Regions from separate parts of the Homo sapiens genome. Here all the other regions are linked to region 1. The links are contacts of gene promoters, found by promoter capture Hi-C in blood cells and fetal thymus (Javierre and others, 2016). All regions are on one chromosome and are shown on one strand. The core of a region is centred on a gene start or on the middle of the fragment in contact, and the rest is flanking DNA. Distances in the headings are between cores, read along the strand shown.

The links. Contacts are between HindIII fragments. The CHiCAGO score rates a contact against its expected background, and 5 or more counts as called.
Region 2: a fragment that was not itself captured here is called in contact with the fragment with the promoter of BMF in region 1 in 1 of 17 cell types (naive B cells); the score reaches 6.3 in naive B cells.
Region 3: a contact is called between a fragment that was not itself captured here and the fragment with the promoter of BMF in region 1, in 3 of 17 cell types (erythroblasts, naive B cells and total B cells). The highest score is 6.0, in erythroblasts.

Annotation. Positions count from the first base shown.
Region 1 is chr15:40,107,343-40,110,432 of GRCh38, forward strand. BMF (Bcl2 modifying factor) reads right to left here and starts at 1,537. Exons shown (of 5, transcript NM_001003940.2): 1 at 1,431-1,537; 2 at 917-1,044. RefSeq lists an enhancer at 140-835 and a silencer at 1,345-1,594. The HindIII fragment of the contact is 6,207 bases long and covers 1-3,090 here.
Region 2 is chr15:40,430,566-40,433,655 of GRCh38, forward strand. It overlaps a transcript of IVD not described here. Among named protein-coding and RNA genes, the nearest start is that of BAHD1, 8.8 kb to the right of the region's middle. The HindIII fragment of the contact is 2,091 bases long and covers 482-2,572 here.
Region 3 is chr15:39,799,858-39,802,947 of GRCh38, forward strand. It overlaps GPR176 (G protein-coupled receptor 176), which reads right to left. Exons shown (of 3, transcript NM_007223.3): 3 at 1-2,397. The coding sequence ends at 1,275. Among named protein-coding and RNA genes, the nearest start is that of FSIP1, 19 kb to the left of the region's middle. The HindIII fragment of the contact is 2,359 bases long and covers 465-2,823 here.

The sequences.
Region 1 (3,090 bases), core at 287-2,786:
AGTTCAATTCAGAATGCTGCCTTTGCCAAACACAAGCTGTGAGCTGCTTGCTTGGGCCCTGCCTTCGTCCCATCCCATCCCTGTCCCTGAGCTGTCTATGGTCCTGTCTGTGCCCTCTTCCCTGGAGAATGAGGAGATGCCTGCTAGGATGGCAAGCAGCCACGTGGTGTTCTTTGGACCGTGTTTCCCAAGTGTGTGTGTGTGTGTGTGTGTGTGTGTGTGTGTGTGTGTGTATGGGGAGGGGGGTGAGGTGGTGCACTCCAGCTTATTAACAACAGGAAACAAAATTTCCTGATGAAAGGACCAAGTGCTGTCCCGCCAGTCACCTGGCAGGGGCTCCCCTCCAGCTCTCCAACCTCCTCTTCTCAGGCTAGCAATCTTGACCTAAGAAGGGGCCCTCAAAGCCAATCACCAGCACGAGTCATTGTCTTGGTTTTTCCTTTGAAGCCTATCACCTTCCCCTCCCCCTCCCAGCAAAGCCCCAAAGTTCAACCTTTGCCTGGACTGGACAGTGGGGGAGGTGCAGCCAGAAGGTGTGGCTCTGCAAGCCCCAGGGACCCCTCTCACGCTCCACAAACTGTAGGTGGCTTGCCTGTAGGTGGGCGCCTCTGGAGGGGTGCTGGCCAAGGTCAAGGGTAAACTAAGAGAGGGTGAAATTTTTCTCCTGAGCTTAAGAGGTGATGTCCAGAGCGGTGGGAGGAGGAGGGCACTTCCTGAGAACAGGGCCAGGGAATGCTTTATTCCTAGCAAAGGAACTCAAGCCCCGCTGCAGCCATCCCAACCCCTAAGGGCTGGAAGAGGGATGCTGAACTTAGACTCCTCCTCCTCTTAGGAGAAGGCAGTAGTCAGACACCCAGATCCTCGACAGTGACTAGGAACACACACACACACACACACACACACACACACCCCAGACCTGGGTGACTCCAGGAGAGAGTCTCGGCCTCCGAGTCGTGATGCCAGGGCTCCGCGCCAGGGTCCAGCGTGACGAGCACTCGGGGGCTGGACGCCCAGACTCGATTGGGAAGGAGGGAAAAAGCCCAGCTGTTAAGGAGAGGAGCCTTCAGACTCCGCAGAGAGGCAGGATGCCCCACAGCTCCTGTCCTATCCCAAAGTCAGACCCAGAGGCTGGGCCGTTCTCGGGCGCCCAGGTCTGCTCAGCAGTGCACCCCAGGTTCCCCTGCCTACCTGGACCCAACTCCTTCGAGTCCCAAATGCTACCCCCAAGTTCCCTCTTGGAGCAGCGCACCCAACTGTGGGTTCTGCACCCCGTTCCCTCACCCCAGCGCCCCAGTTCTTCATGGTCACCCCAGACGTCCGCAGCCCAAACCCTTCCCGGGCCCCCGTGCGCAGCGCGACTCCGCTCCCCACTTCCCCAAGGAGCTGCGATCCAACTCCGCCCGGCCCCCGGCGGCCACCCGGGCGCTCACCGGGCTGCGGCAGGAGGCGGGAGGCGCAGGCAGGGGCGGCGGCGGCGGCGGGCACAGGCCGGGGCGGGAGGAGGCCACTCCGCACGGTGCGGTATTGTTTCCAAAATACGCCTGCTCGGGGCATCCCGCAAACAGCTGATGAGGCCCCGCCCCCCTGCGCGTCACGCCGAGGACTGACCAATGGCGAGTGAAGCGCCAAGTCCCGGGCTGGGCCGCTGCCAGGGACGGTCACGAATGTACGAACCTTCCCATGGAAACATTGCAAGGGGCCGAGCAAAATTCCGACCGTCGCCAGAAGCGCAGTCGGAGCGCCGTCGCCAGTGCGGATTCTGTCCCTAACACAGGCTCTGGAAGCGCCAGAGAGTCCCTGAATCCTCTGTATTAGGTGTGGGAGAGGGGGCGCCAAAGTAACTTTTGTCTTCTTTTTCACGGCAATGGGCAGAATAATTGCTGCGCGTCCACAAAGGGAGGGGGGAAGGAGGCGGGGAGTTTTTTTATGAGGCTGGTGCGTCCAGTGGGTGCAGGGTGCAGGGTGCGGGTCCCTATGGGATCCCAGCCTCAGGGGAAAGCTCCCTCCCGCCTGCCGAGCAGGTCGGAAGAAAACTGCAGCTCCAAAGCTGAAGGTGTGTTTGAAACAAACACATCCAGGGGAGCCCTTAGGTCCTCTTCTTGACTGGGCGTGGGCACTGGCAAAATAAGCACCTGGCTGAGAAGCGGAGCGCTCAAGAAGGCCGGGGCTGCTTGAGCGGTTGACACATATCTCGCATATGGCAGCATTTAGAGACTGTGCTGGTGCTGCCAGGAGAGCAGCATGTCCTGCAGACCGCGTAAGGGAGTCTATGGGCTACTTCACAGGCATTTACCGAGCACCTACTCTGTGCCAGATATTGGGCTGAGTGCCAGAAACCTGGCGTCTGCCCTCAAGGAGCTTACAGTCTACTAGGAGAGGTAGCCCTGAAAATAGTGAAAAGTTATTGGAATTGTATTCATTCCAAGGATAATGACTATTGAGGAATGCAGAAAAATTCAGAATACAAAGGCTGGAGAAGGCCTCAGGGAGACAGCTTTTAAATTGAATGGGAAATATTTTTCAATAAGGAAAACCAGATGCACATGTCTCACGCCTGTAATCCCAACACTTTGGGAGGCCGAGGCGGGTGGTTCACTTGAGCTCAGTGGTTGGAGACCAGCCTGGCCAACACGGGAAACCCTGTCTCTACTAAAAATACAAAAATCAGGCGGGCGTGGTGGCGCATGCCTGTAATCCCAGCTACTTGGGAGGCTGAGGTAGGAGAATTGCTTGAACCTAGGAGGTGAAGGTTGCAGTGGGCGGAGATAGCGCCACCGCACTCCAGCCTGGGCGACAATGAGACTCCGTCTCAAAAAAATAAAAATAAAATAAAATAAAAAAGAATAGCCCAGGCCTAAGGGTAGCAGACTGAAGTGCTGAGCTGGAGAGCTTACCTGTGCAGGGAGCAGAGGGAGGCTTGGTGACTGGATCATTGGGTGCACACTGAGATTTACGAACGGTAGGCATGGGCAGGTGGGTTCAGGTCAGACTACAGAGGTGTCCCTGGAATGCCAGACTGAAGAATCTGTATTTTATAAAGGGGAGGCAGCAAAGATTTTATTGGAGATGAGTGACTTGACCAAGCCTGAG
Region 2 (3,090 bases), core at 277-2,776, 320 kb after region 1:
GGAGGCTGGGCTGTGGTTGATCACAGAGGTGGGAGGAGATTCGAGGCTGGAGACTCCAGTAAATGACAGGCTGTGGTGATGGATTAGCTATGGGTGGCGGCTTGGGAGGGAGAGGGAGGTGCCAAGGATGAGTCCAAGGTTCTTGACTCTTAAAACTGCCAGTGCACCCCACAGTGGAAACATTGGGAGAACACTGAGTTTGCTTGTAGTTGGAAGTTGGCTGAAGTGTATCTGATGTTCTTGAAAGACCATATTGATGTTTCAGTGTCAAAGAGAGTGCAGAAGGCAGGGAAAGGGTACTTTTGATAACGGCTTTGCCAAAGGAATATCTTTTTATAAAGAAATATGACAATCGACTTGCAACATTTTGCCCCCAATCTAACAGTGAGATGAATGTTGCTCACAGCAACTTCATGTGTAAAATTTGAATGAGTTGCTAACAGACATTTGGAAAACATAAGAGTAGAGAATTGTTTGGGGAAGCTTATTTAGGAAGAAGTGATGGAGAAATCATTAAAAGTGACAAGGCTGGGATGTAAACCCTGGCTCCACTATTATTACGCTTTTTTTTTTTTTGTCTTTTTTTTTCTTCCTTTTTGTGGAGAACGGGGTCTCGCTTTATTGCCCAGACAGGTCTCGAACTCCTGGGCTCAAGCTATCCTCCCACCTCTGCCTCCCTGAGACCTGGGATTACAGGTGTGAGCCACCGTGCCCAGCCGGCTCCACTATTATTAATGTGACCCTGGGAAGTTACCGAACCTCTCTATGCCTCAGTTTTCTCATTAGTAAAATGAGAATAATAACACTATCTATTTCATAAGACTGGCTGGGGATTAAGAGTATGTGTAGGCCGGGCGCAGTGGCTCACGCCTGTAATCCCAGCACTTTGGGAGGCCGAGGCAGGCAGATCACGAGGTCAGGAGACCGAGACCAGCCTGGCTAACATGGTGAAACCCCGTCTCTACTAAAAATACAAAAAATTAGCTGGGCACAGTGGCGGGCGCCTGTAGTCCCAGCTACTCGGGAGGCTGAGGCAGGAGAATGGTGTGAACTTGGAAGGCAGAGCTTGCAGTGAGCTGAGATCACGCCACTGCACTCCAGCCTGGGCTACAGAGCAAGACTCCATCTCAAAAAAAAAAAAAAGATTATGTGTAAAGAGCTTAACACAGTGCCTAACTCATGGAATCTCTCCAGGAACATTACCTATCACAGAATACACCCTGACAGAGGGAAGCAATGAAAAAGGCAATTGCTGATTTCCCATAATCCCTTTCAACAAAGAAGAGTTGTTGTCTATATAACTAAGTGTAATTTTTATAAATGCCCTTATTAGATTTTTAAATATAGTATAATATTCACAAATCAAGGGGAAAAATTGTCAGGCCTCTCATATCTAAGTCTTTTTTTTTTTTTTTTGAGATAGATTCTCACTCCATCACCCAGGTTGGAGTGCAATAGTTCCATCTTGGCTCACTGCAATCTCCACCCCCCAGGTTCAAGCGATTCTTATGCCTCAGCCTCCTGAGTAGCTGGAACTACAGATGCGTGTCACCACACCTGTAGAGACAGGGTTTTGCCACATTGGCCAGACTGGTCTTGAACTCCTGGCCTCAAGTGATCCGCCCACCTCGGCCCCCCAAAGTGCTGGAATTACAGGTGTGAGCCACTGCGCCTGGCCTATCATATCTAAGTCTTGATGTCACTTTTCCAGTTACTAATCATCTGGCCCAGTCTTGCTTAGGTCATACACTCTTTGATGTGCTCTTCAGTTTCTGAGGATCACGCCTCTGCTGGGTGGAGTAGCTTTCCTAGGTCAGAAGCAATGCTGTCTGCATGGCCTCCCAAGTCTTCTTGGTGCCTGCACAGTGCAGAGCACAGGTGGCACCATGGTTGGTTAACACCATACTTGTGGCCCAGACTGTAGTCCCCCCAGAGGGTGTCTGCTGGAAAGGGCTGGTCCTGGCTCTTGCTGTGGGTTCACTGAGGTTAAGTGAAGATGGCAAAAGAACCACAGGTGATTCTCTCCTCTGCTCTGGGTTTTGCAAGACTAGAGAGGTCAGTGGCTGTGGCTGAGAGCCTGTAGGAGATGGAACTACCTCACCTTGAGGAATGTGCTTAGGGATGCCACAGAGAATCTTTCCCGAAGAGGGAAATGGCTAGGGCCCTGGCCTTGGGAGGATGGAATGGAGAAGCCATGGGAAGAGGGGCTGGCCTCTCCTCCAAACCCAGCAAAGGGAGCCATCCTGCCTGACTGAAGCCAGAGTGGGGCCCACTGCTGGGTGGACAGAATACAGCCACAGGCACTACATTGTCAGAGCTCCAGATGGGAGACAAGGAGTACAAAACAGAGGTGGAAGACTGATTCCAGTATGGAAGCAGGGCAGGCTTCAGGCATGGCCAGATTTGGGCATGATGAAATAGATTCACAATTGCTAATGTTCTGGGGGCACTTGTGGCTACATCAGGTACTATTCTAAGTACTTTATATGTTTTAAGACACTGTAGCGCCAGGACTGTACTCAGAAAGTCTGCATTCTTAACCACTACGCTATGTGAAATGTAGAAAGAAGAAAGCTTTTAGACATATAAAGGGTTAGACCTCTATTTTATATGTTAAATGCCGTATGAAAAAAAAAGCAAAGGTTTTGGAGCCACTCCAAGCCTATGTGATCTTGGGCAGTTACTTAGATTCTCCAGGTCTCAGTTTCCTCATTTGTTTGTAAATTTGAGAGTACATTTACCTACCAGAGTTCTTGAGGGTTAAATAAAGAAACGTATGTTGAGTGCCTGTTCATGCCTTCTGTAAGAGACACCTGCCCCCTCTGGACCTCCTGCCGGCTTTGGAGGCTCTCAATACACTGCCCATTCCAGATCTGGATTTCTTCATCTTCCCAGGGGTCTGTACGTCTGGAATAAAGGAACCAACATAGTGGATGCACCCCTGGTCTTCCAGTCCACAGCACTGGGAGTTCCTCAGGGGAGAAGTCATACTCCAAGTTGATATCTGAGCGGACAAGTGTTCTGGTAACAGTAAAGGAGGTGACCCTGGAAGCTGAGGTCCCAAGCAACCCAAACCTAGATCATCACAGA
Region 3 (3,090 bases), core at 394-2,893, 310 kb before region 1:
ACCCAGTCTGGCTCTACAACGACAGGGAAGGAGGAAGTGAAGAGCTCATCTGGGTCAGATGTTGCCTTGGCACTCTACAATGATTATTTCTCCCTGTTCTGTTCCTCCTCTGTGTCCAAAATTAAGAGAGAACCGCAGCTGTACAAACAGACTGAAAAGGAGACTGGCCACACCTGAGTTCCGGAGTCTTCCTCGGAAGGAAACCATCTTTGTCAGATTCTTGCCAACCTTTTGGGCAGAGTCACCTTTCCAAATCAGGCCTTTTCAGTTTGATGTTTCCAAAGGACCCAGCTTACACTAACTCTCCATTTTAAAAATACCTTTTAATTCCTAAAGTTTGCATAAGATGATTTTTTCAATATATTTGACTCATACTGGTTGTTACATAGCACCTTTCATGTGAGATCATAGGGAAGAAAAAAAAACTACAGCGCCATAGGCATCTCTCAGGCATCTCCCCCGTAAGCTTCTCTCTCATTTGTTGAGAAAACACAATTTAAGGTGAAAGACAGAGCGAAGACTTTTCAGTGTTTTCCAGCCAACACTGACCCTGACTGGAGGGTGCAGGTGTATCTCTCTGAGGCGTTGGTGATGCCAAGGGAAAATCAGAATTATCAAGGACAAAATATCTCCCTTACTCCCGGGCACATCTATCGCCATGTGTACCATAGGTGAGGAATCGTCATTCCTTACCTACATCCCAATGAAAGGGACGAAGGGTATCAGGAGAAACAGTGAGTCATATGACTGGGGCTTCCAGAGAAACAGTGTAAGACACCAAATCCCTACCTTCTCAACAGAAAATGTTTGACATGTTTAAGTTCATCAAACAGGCATTTTCTCTGGAGCCACCATGCTCCATCATGATCTTGGAATTCCCTTAGAGTGCTCCTGCTCCCTGCTCCTGTGAGCTCTGAAAGTCTTCTCTCTGTGTGTTCTCTGCAGAGCCCAGGGAAGTGAGGCATCCTCAGAAAGTGCACATGGGGTACCCACCTCAAGACCCATTCAAAACTGCCCAGCTCTTGTCCCCACAGAGAATAATGTGGACTTCACTAAGGACATGGATCACTGAGATGGATACATATACTCCCTCAATAAAGAGGACACTGGATTTTATGTAGATTTCCCTATCATTCAAAAGCATCTGGCCCATATTGGAGGAATCAACTCACACTGAGTTGCAAGGAGATCATACAATCACATGGCCACAGCATTCCCACACTCTGGTGGGAATATGGAAGCTCCCCGTTGCTTCCAAGAATTTACAATCCTTGCTAGGAATCCACCTTTGGAAAAATGCTCACTTTATTGTTTCTGCTCATCTTCCGCTCCACCCTGCCTACCTTGGGCACCTTTGTCTGGATCAGCTCTTCTGGGGTGTTGCCCAAGGGGGGAAGCAGCCGCTTCTTGCTGTTTCGGGTCTCTGAGAGCCACTGAGGAGGCAACTCAAAAGGCCCAAAGCCAAACTGCAGGGAATACTTATCAGGGAATGTTTCAGGTTCCACAGGGGCTGCCGGTGCCACCTGGGATACAGAGTCCACTGTGCTCAGGGGTGGGGCAGAGGGCGCAAACTGTGGCCCCTGCTCTCCCTCCAGGCAGGTGCTAAATATCTCCTTGGCCTGGAAGTCAGCTGAGCCAATGTACTTGGCCTCACTCTCTTCCTCATCCTCTGTGGGCTTAAAGATCTGCTGCTGCCCAATGTGGAACATCTCCAGGAGCTGGCTACCCGAGCGTATGCTGGGTTCCAGGCTGGCCTCAGCCATGCCACTCCCTGTACTGACCACATTACGGCGACTGTACCGGTGGTGTAGTTGCACCAGGGTCCCTATCAAGCACTTGCGGACAGATTTGTTCACAGTAAGAAAGAGAACAGGGTTTGCCAGCAGGGAGACTTTGGGCAGCCAAACAGCAGTGAGCAGCAAGAAGACGGAAGTGTCAGGGACATTGAGCACAGTCTGGTAGACGACCAGGGTGGCATAGGGCACGCTACACAAGATGAAGACCATCACCATGGAGAGCAGGGTGGCGTGCAGCTCGGCCTCCCGCTGGGAGGCATAGGGAATAGAGATGGTGTTCTGTGGGGTCCGGAGCGCTGCTATGATGACCTTCTTCTTCTGGCTGGCACTCAGGGCCCGTCGGATCAGTATCAAGAAGAGGAACACCACCACCACAGGCACAATGACCGTGGTGATGTTATACACCAGAACGTACACCAGGTGGCCCAAGGAGTTGCTCCAGACTTCCGTGCAGGTGGACGTGGCATAGATGTCAGCCACATTGGTTACTGCAAACACAGGGACACTGGCCACCACTGCATGGGCCCAGATGTACATCACCAGTTCACGGGACTTGGCATCAGATATTTTCCTCTCCAGTGGATAGAGGACTGAGTAGTACCTGCAAGATACACAAACAAAATTAATTCCACAGAAGATACTTTTTAAATTAGGGGAACCTAAATCACCAAAAGTAGATGAGAGGGAAGAAAGGTCAAGTTCTTCTATTCGGCCTAAGACAGAAAAGCACTGGGGGAATCCAGGAAGCCAGACCTAAGTTTTGAGGACTTTGCAAGTACAATAAGAAGCGTCACTAGACCAAAAAATAAAAACCTTTCCAAAGGAGCAGCAAACCTGTCCTCATGAGGCTTTACAGGAAAACAAGTAAATAATTTCAATTCATAGCTAGCTTTATAATTATTGCTACCAGGATGAAATCGCAAACAGTACCCTCCATATAAAAGATTTCTCCATCTGCTATAAAGATATCTACTTTTCAATTTGAGGGTAAAGGGTAATTGGTAAACAATTTTATATGGGCTAAAGAAGCTTTAGGGCAATTTTCAAAGCTACCAACAGAAATAAGTTTGTCTACACACATATCTAAAGCAGACTTATGCCACAGTCCAGATATCATTAACAATTAAAGTTGTTCAGGGCAGAAGAACCAGTATGAAGAATGGACTCCGACAAGGTCCTTCCACAAAAATCAATTCAGCTGACAAAAGTTATGCCTGCTCAACAGTCATTGCTCCCATGATAATCACTCAGTAACCCTAAGGGCAATTAATAGGTCTAAAATGCCTGCACAATT